Linked DNA regions of Homo sapiens: region 2 is linked to region 1. Evidence: promoter capture Hi-C in human tissues and cell types (Jung and others, 2019). All regions are on one chromosome and are shown on one strand. The core of a region is centred on a gene start or on the middle of the fragment in contact, and the rest is flanking DNA. Distances in the headings are between cores, read along the strand shown. Region 1 holds the start of DONSON (DNA replication fork stabilization factor DONSON). Region 2 overlaps EVA1C (eva-1 homolog C).

The links. Contacts are between HindIII fragments. The study calls those that stand out against the background at their distance.
Region 2: a fragment that was not itself captured here is called in contact with the fragment with the promoter of DONSON in region 1 in 1 of the 25 tissues and cell types used here (dorsolateral prefrontal cortex).

Annotation. Positions count from the first base shown.
Region 1 is chr21:33,587,349-33,590,115 of GRCh38, forward strand. DONSON (DNA replication fork stabilization factor DONSON) reads right to left here and starts at 1,336. Exons shown (of 10, transcript NM_017613.4): 1 at 973-1,336; 2 at 174-254. The coding sequence starts at 1,293. It overlaps CRYZL1 (crystallin zeta like 1), which reads right to left. Exons shown (of 13, transcript NM_145858.3): 13 at 1,993-2,573. The coding sequence ends at 2,474. RefSeq lists a silencer at 877-1,566 and an enhancer at 1,025-1,524. The HindIII fragment of the contact is 19,336 bases long and covers 1-2,767 here.
Region 2 is chr21:32,515,116-32,517,882 of GRCh38, forward strand. It overlaps EVA1C (eva-1 homolog C), which reads left to right. Exons shown (of 8, transcript NM_058187.5): 8 at 1-272. The coding sequence ends at 75. Among named protein-coding and RNA genes, the nearest start is that of TCP10L, 69 kb to the right of the region's middle. The HindIII fragment of the contact is 5,464 bases long and covers 1-2,767 here.

The sequences.
Region 1 (2,767 bases), core at 86-2,585:
TTGGCTGATGCGGTATTTTCATCCCTGGTTGAGATGATCAAGCCTCTCTGTAAAACTACTTTCCAAGCAAAATGCTTCTGAGAAGTATAAATGTATTTTTAAAAATAGGCTCAAATCCTATGAAAAAAAAGTTTATACAAATACACATTCTAATGATATTTAAAAAGTATTACCTGAGGTAATTCAGTAACAGTTGTTCTTTCAGGAAACTTCTCTTCCCATAGCAAATCATTTTCTTGATTAGAATCTAAAAACTGAGGTTAAATATATTCTCCTTTAAAATTTAAAGGATGCTGAAGTTTGCGTTAAATATGTACAGAGCCTCACCTGGCATACATGTTTCTCAATAAACGCAAGTACACCTAAATTCAGAGGCACCCCATCCAATCTATGAGTTTCAACACTTCAGTTTTGTGTCTGAACTTTAGTATCAAAATTGAGGGGAACAGGGACCGGCGTTTCAAACCGAAAGATCCAAAAGGCTTTGGGTAAGACAGATGCTAGTGAATTCTGACCCCACGAATCCTCGACATTCCCCCATCTCCAGAATAATTTGGAGTGCGTGAGAGAAGGGAGGCCCTAAATCACGGGGGAAGCAGGGCTTGTCACCTGCCCCATCGAACAGCGTCCTTGCAAGATGGGGGCTCTCAGGGTTTTTCGAGCTCTTTTCCAAGTCACCTCTAAGTCCTCTCCAAGGGGCTCCTCGCTGCCCTCTGGGGCCCCCTCACTTTCCTCGGGAACGCGTCCCGTGAGCACAGCCCGCAGCGGGGTAGCCAGGGGAGCGCTCTTCCCACAAACCCGGCCTTGCCAGAATCGCGGCTCCCAGGGCGGGGTACCCTAAGGCCACGGGCGGCCGAAGTCTTCGCGCCCATTTCCTTGCCTCGAACGCGAGGACTTTCCATCCCCCATTCACAGCTGGCTCAACCCACGAAAGACAAGAGCCCCTTGGCGGCCAGGCTACAAGACACTCACCGGGACCGGGGCCTCCGGCTGCTCGCGGGCCGGCCCGTCGGGGGGCTCCGCGGCGACCCGCGGTCGGTTGTCCAGGCGGGCGAAGGGGTTCCTCCGAGCAGCGGCCGGGCCGCCGCCGCTGCCACCGCCTCTGCCCCCCGCAGCAGGGAAAGGGCGAAGAGGCAGCCCCGCCACCAGGGCGGCTCGGCGGGCCGCCGGCTCCGTCAGCTCACGGGGCGGGGAGGCGGCAGCTCCACGGCTCCGGGCCCTTTTCCGTCGGAGCCGCACTACCTCGGGCGGCTTTCGGAAGCCCGGTGAGTAGCCGGGCACCGAAAGGGCCATGACGCGCGGCGGCTGAGGGTAGCCGGCCGCCCTACAGAGACTTCCCGCGCGCGCCGGGCCCGCCCCTGACGTGGCGCCTCGCCGAGCTCCCGCCCCCGACGCGGCCCCGCCTCCGCCCCCGCCGGTTCCGAGCGGAGCATGCGCAGTGGGCAGCCCGCGAGACGCAGCCCGCAGCGGCGATCCCGGGTGGCCGTCAACGCCCACTGTCCCAGCGGTGACCCTGCCCTGGCGCTTCTGCCAGGTCCTCGGCCAGAGTCCAGTCGCCAGGTTCAGCGACGCTTCTGGAAAGTATGCGATCCAGGGCGCTGATGTGCACTACCCTGTGGGGCACCGAAATAGCTTAACTCTATTTAAGCCCGCAGCAGGGATGTGATCAGCCCGGGGTTTGGCGCCTGGATGAAAAGGAAACAAACTTGAGCTGCGGCGATGGGCTGCTGCTTCCATAAACTTAAGAGAGGGCAGTGGCTACTGCTCTCAAGAGGCGAGGAGAGGGGACTAGGCCACCTTCCTCAACCCCCAGAGAACTCAGATAAGACGTCAGCACGCTTCCTATGCCAGCGCAGCCTACCGACATCCCTCCCTTCCCCGTTCCCAGTGCCTGGTCATCTCAGACTTCCAGGCAGCTGCCACTGGCAAGTTAATGGGATCTTCTTTGATCCTGGGGAAAGCCGGAGTGAATGAATAGTTGAAAACACAAAATTTAAGTGCCTATGGGCTAAGTCTTTTAAGACTTCAAAATATACTCAAATGCTTAAATTATGACAGCAAAGACTTAAGGAAGGTGTTGAGAACGGAGTTGATACAAAATTAATACGTTACTTTGATAGCTTAGCAAAGGCCTGCAACAGCTTTTATCAAGAGTAGTGTGACTTTTGCTGAAAGCAGCAGTTTTCTTCATGGAAGGAATTTTATAGCAGGGGCAAAATATATAGAAACAATGAAAAGGTTTTTAGAAAAATTCCCTTAAGATGTTAATTATAGAATTATCTTGATCATTTGCACAAGAATTTTTCAAACACTTTTCAAATGTGTCAACTGAGCATCTTGTCTTAGCAGAGAAACGTGCTTAAAAATGCAACTTGTTTTATCTTCCTTGGTTTTTCTCAACAATTTCCAAAGAAAATTCTGGCTTCAAATACTGGAATATGTTCATCCGACTGAGGTCTGAGAAAGAAGAAAATTAAAATTGAACAACTTGCTTTTTTCTTCCTTGATTTTTCTGAACAGCTTCCATGGAAACTTTTGCCTCATACAGTGGAATGGGTTCATCCAACTGAGGTCTGAGAAGGAATGAAATTAGAAATGTCAGGTCTAGTTAAAGATAAGTAGAACAAACAGGGTGGTATATGACAAATGCTAGTGCTCAAATCTATTAGTGTATTAATTAATTTTTTGAGACAGAGTCTGGCTCTCTCATCCAGGCTGGAGTGCAGTGGCACGATCTCAGCTCACTGCAACCTCCGGCTCCCGGGTT
Region 2 (2,767 bases), core at 156-2,655, 1.1 Mb before region 1:
CAAATCATTCAGGAAATATGGATGAACAGTGGTTTGGACACCTCGCTCCCAAGAAACATGGGCCAGTTCTACTGAAAACCACATGCATCTTGATGCGATCGCACTTTCTGAAGAAGGAAGGATCCCAAATGCCCCTCCAGTTCTGGTTCACCTGTACCTTCTATGAAGGAGAATTCGTCATGTCATTCAACACTCGTGAGGCCAGGAAGCTATTAAAGGGATGTTTCAAGCTGTTTCTAGCACATTCCAAAATAAATGAGGAGGGAAGAGTCTTTGTTTTCTGTATTTCTTTGAATTTGTGTCTATACATTAATAAGTTATACATAATTAGAATTTACATTTGTTGAGCGCTTATAATGCCAGGCGCTATTCTAACTGCTTTTCATGTTCTGAGTCATTCAATCCTCACAATGTCATGAGCTGGTACTATTACCCCCATTTTACAGATGACTAAACAGAAGATTCCTATATATACACGTAAAACAGTTACACAGATACTCAGCAAACATGAGCTCATGAGTGATTTTAACCACTGACTTGTTTAGACCAACGGTTAGCAAACTTTTTCTTAAAAGGCAAGATGATAGGCTGGGCACAGTGGCTCATGCCTGTAATCCCAGCACTTTGGGAGGCCAAGGCAGGTGGATCACTTGAGGTCAGGAGTTCGAGACCAGCCTAGCCAACACGGTGAAACCCCATCTCTACCAAAAAAATAAAAAATTAGCTGGGTGTGGTAGTGCGCGCCTGTAATCCCAGCTACTTGGGAGGCTGAGGCAGGAGAAATCACTTGAACCTAGGAGGCAGAGGTTGCAGTGAGCTGAGGTCGTGCCACTGCACTCCAGCCTGGGTGACAGAGTGAGAAACTGTCAAAAAAAAAAAAGCAAGATGATAAATATTTTAGGCATTGTGGGTCAAATCCTCTCTGCCACAATTACTCGACTCTCCATTGCAGCTCAAAAGCAGCCACAGATATTACATAATGCATGAACTTGGCTGTATTCCAATAAAACGTTCTTTTTGGACACTGAATTTTAATTTCATTTTATTTTCACATGTTCCACGTTCTTCTTTTTTTTTTTTTTTTTAAACCAGCCATTTAAAAATGTAAAAGCCTGAGGCCAAGAGTTCGAGACTAGCCTGGGCAACATAGTAAGACCCTACCTCTATTTAATTAAAAAAAATTTAAATAAAAGTAAATAAATAAAAATGTAAAAAAACATTCTTAACTCAAAGGCTGTACAAAAACAGACAGCAGGATGGAGCTGGCCTGTAACCTGTTTTTGTAAATAAAGTATGGTTTGCAAAACCTAAAATATTTACTTTCTTGCCCTCTATAGAAAAAAGTTTGCTGACTCCTGGTTTAGAGTTTAAAACAGCAGAGCCCCTGGTGGTAATAGCCATCAACCAGGGTACCTAACAGTGCTGTGGGCCAGGATCAAGTGGAGCTGGCTCCCAAATCTCTCCAAAAACAGGGTCCTACCCCACTTGGGGAGGGCTGGGTGGAGGAGCAGAAGAAAGAGTTCAGAAAACAGACCCCAGTGGGAGAACTTATTATTGGTTCCTGCAGACGGCTCTCCCTGGTAGACAGGAGGCTTATAGCTGTGGCATCAAATAAGAAAACATGTTTTTTTTCTTTTTTGTCCTAGTAATCCCAGGGGCTTAGAATATAAACATGATTGCATTTTTCATATGCCTATTACCAAAGAGCTCTCTCTCTGTTATCTTATTATCTTACTTCGTCATCACTAACCCTATAAACATATGTAGATGAGGAAGCTGAAGGCCGCCAGGGTAAGTATCGTCCAGCCCACGTCACACAGCTGGGAAGTGCTGGGACTGACTCGTCCTGAGTGCTCAGGAAACATAGCTGTTCCCACAGGAACTCCTACAGTGACAGGTATGGAGAAGGCATGTCTCTCTCAGTCTTGCAGACCATAAGGGTGAAGGGCCTATCTGCAGGATGCAGAGGAGGGTGGGTGTGGAGTGAGGAGGCTCAGCTGCCACTCTGGCATTCATTTTTAGTAAGTTGAAATCCACATAATGTAAAATTAACTCTCTCAATGACGTTTAGTCCATTTGCAATGTTGTGCAAACACCACCTCTATCTAGTTCCAAAACATTTCATCACCCCAAAAGAAAACTCTCTGCCCGTTAAGCAGTCACTCCCCATTCCTCCCTCCCTCCAGCCCCTGGAAAACACCAATTTGCTTTCTGTCACTATGGATTAGCCTGTTCTGGATAGTTCATGTAGATGGGATCACACAACATGTAGTCTCTTGTGACTGCCTCATTTCACTTAACATAACGTCCTCAAGATCCATCTATGTTGTAGCAAGTGTAGCATGTGTTCATTCCTTTTCAGGGCTGAATAATATTCCATTGTACGGCTAGCCCACAGTTTGTTTATCCAGCCATCAGCTGGTGGACATTTGGCTGGTTCCTTTGGCCACTGTGAATAGTGCTGCTGTGAACGTTCATGTGTGGCATTTCACCAGCACAAAGCAGCAACTACAGACAGAGCTGGTGGGAAATCCTGTGTGTCCACTCAGTGGAAGGAAGGGGAAAGTCAAGATGGGTCAGAATGGCACCCCCTCTTCTACCCTCCACACCTGCCAATTTCAAAGCAAGCTTCCCTTACACAGGCCCCCTGCAGGTGGGAGAGCAGGGATTGGCCAAGAGAGGTGTCATACAGATGGGCTGGGGGTGGTTTGGGTGGAGATTGAAATTCCTCAGGATTTCCAGGTACCGGAATTTCTCCCATAGGGAG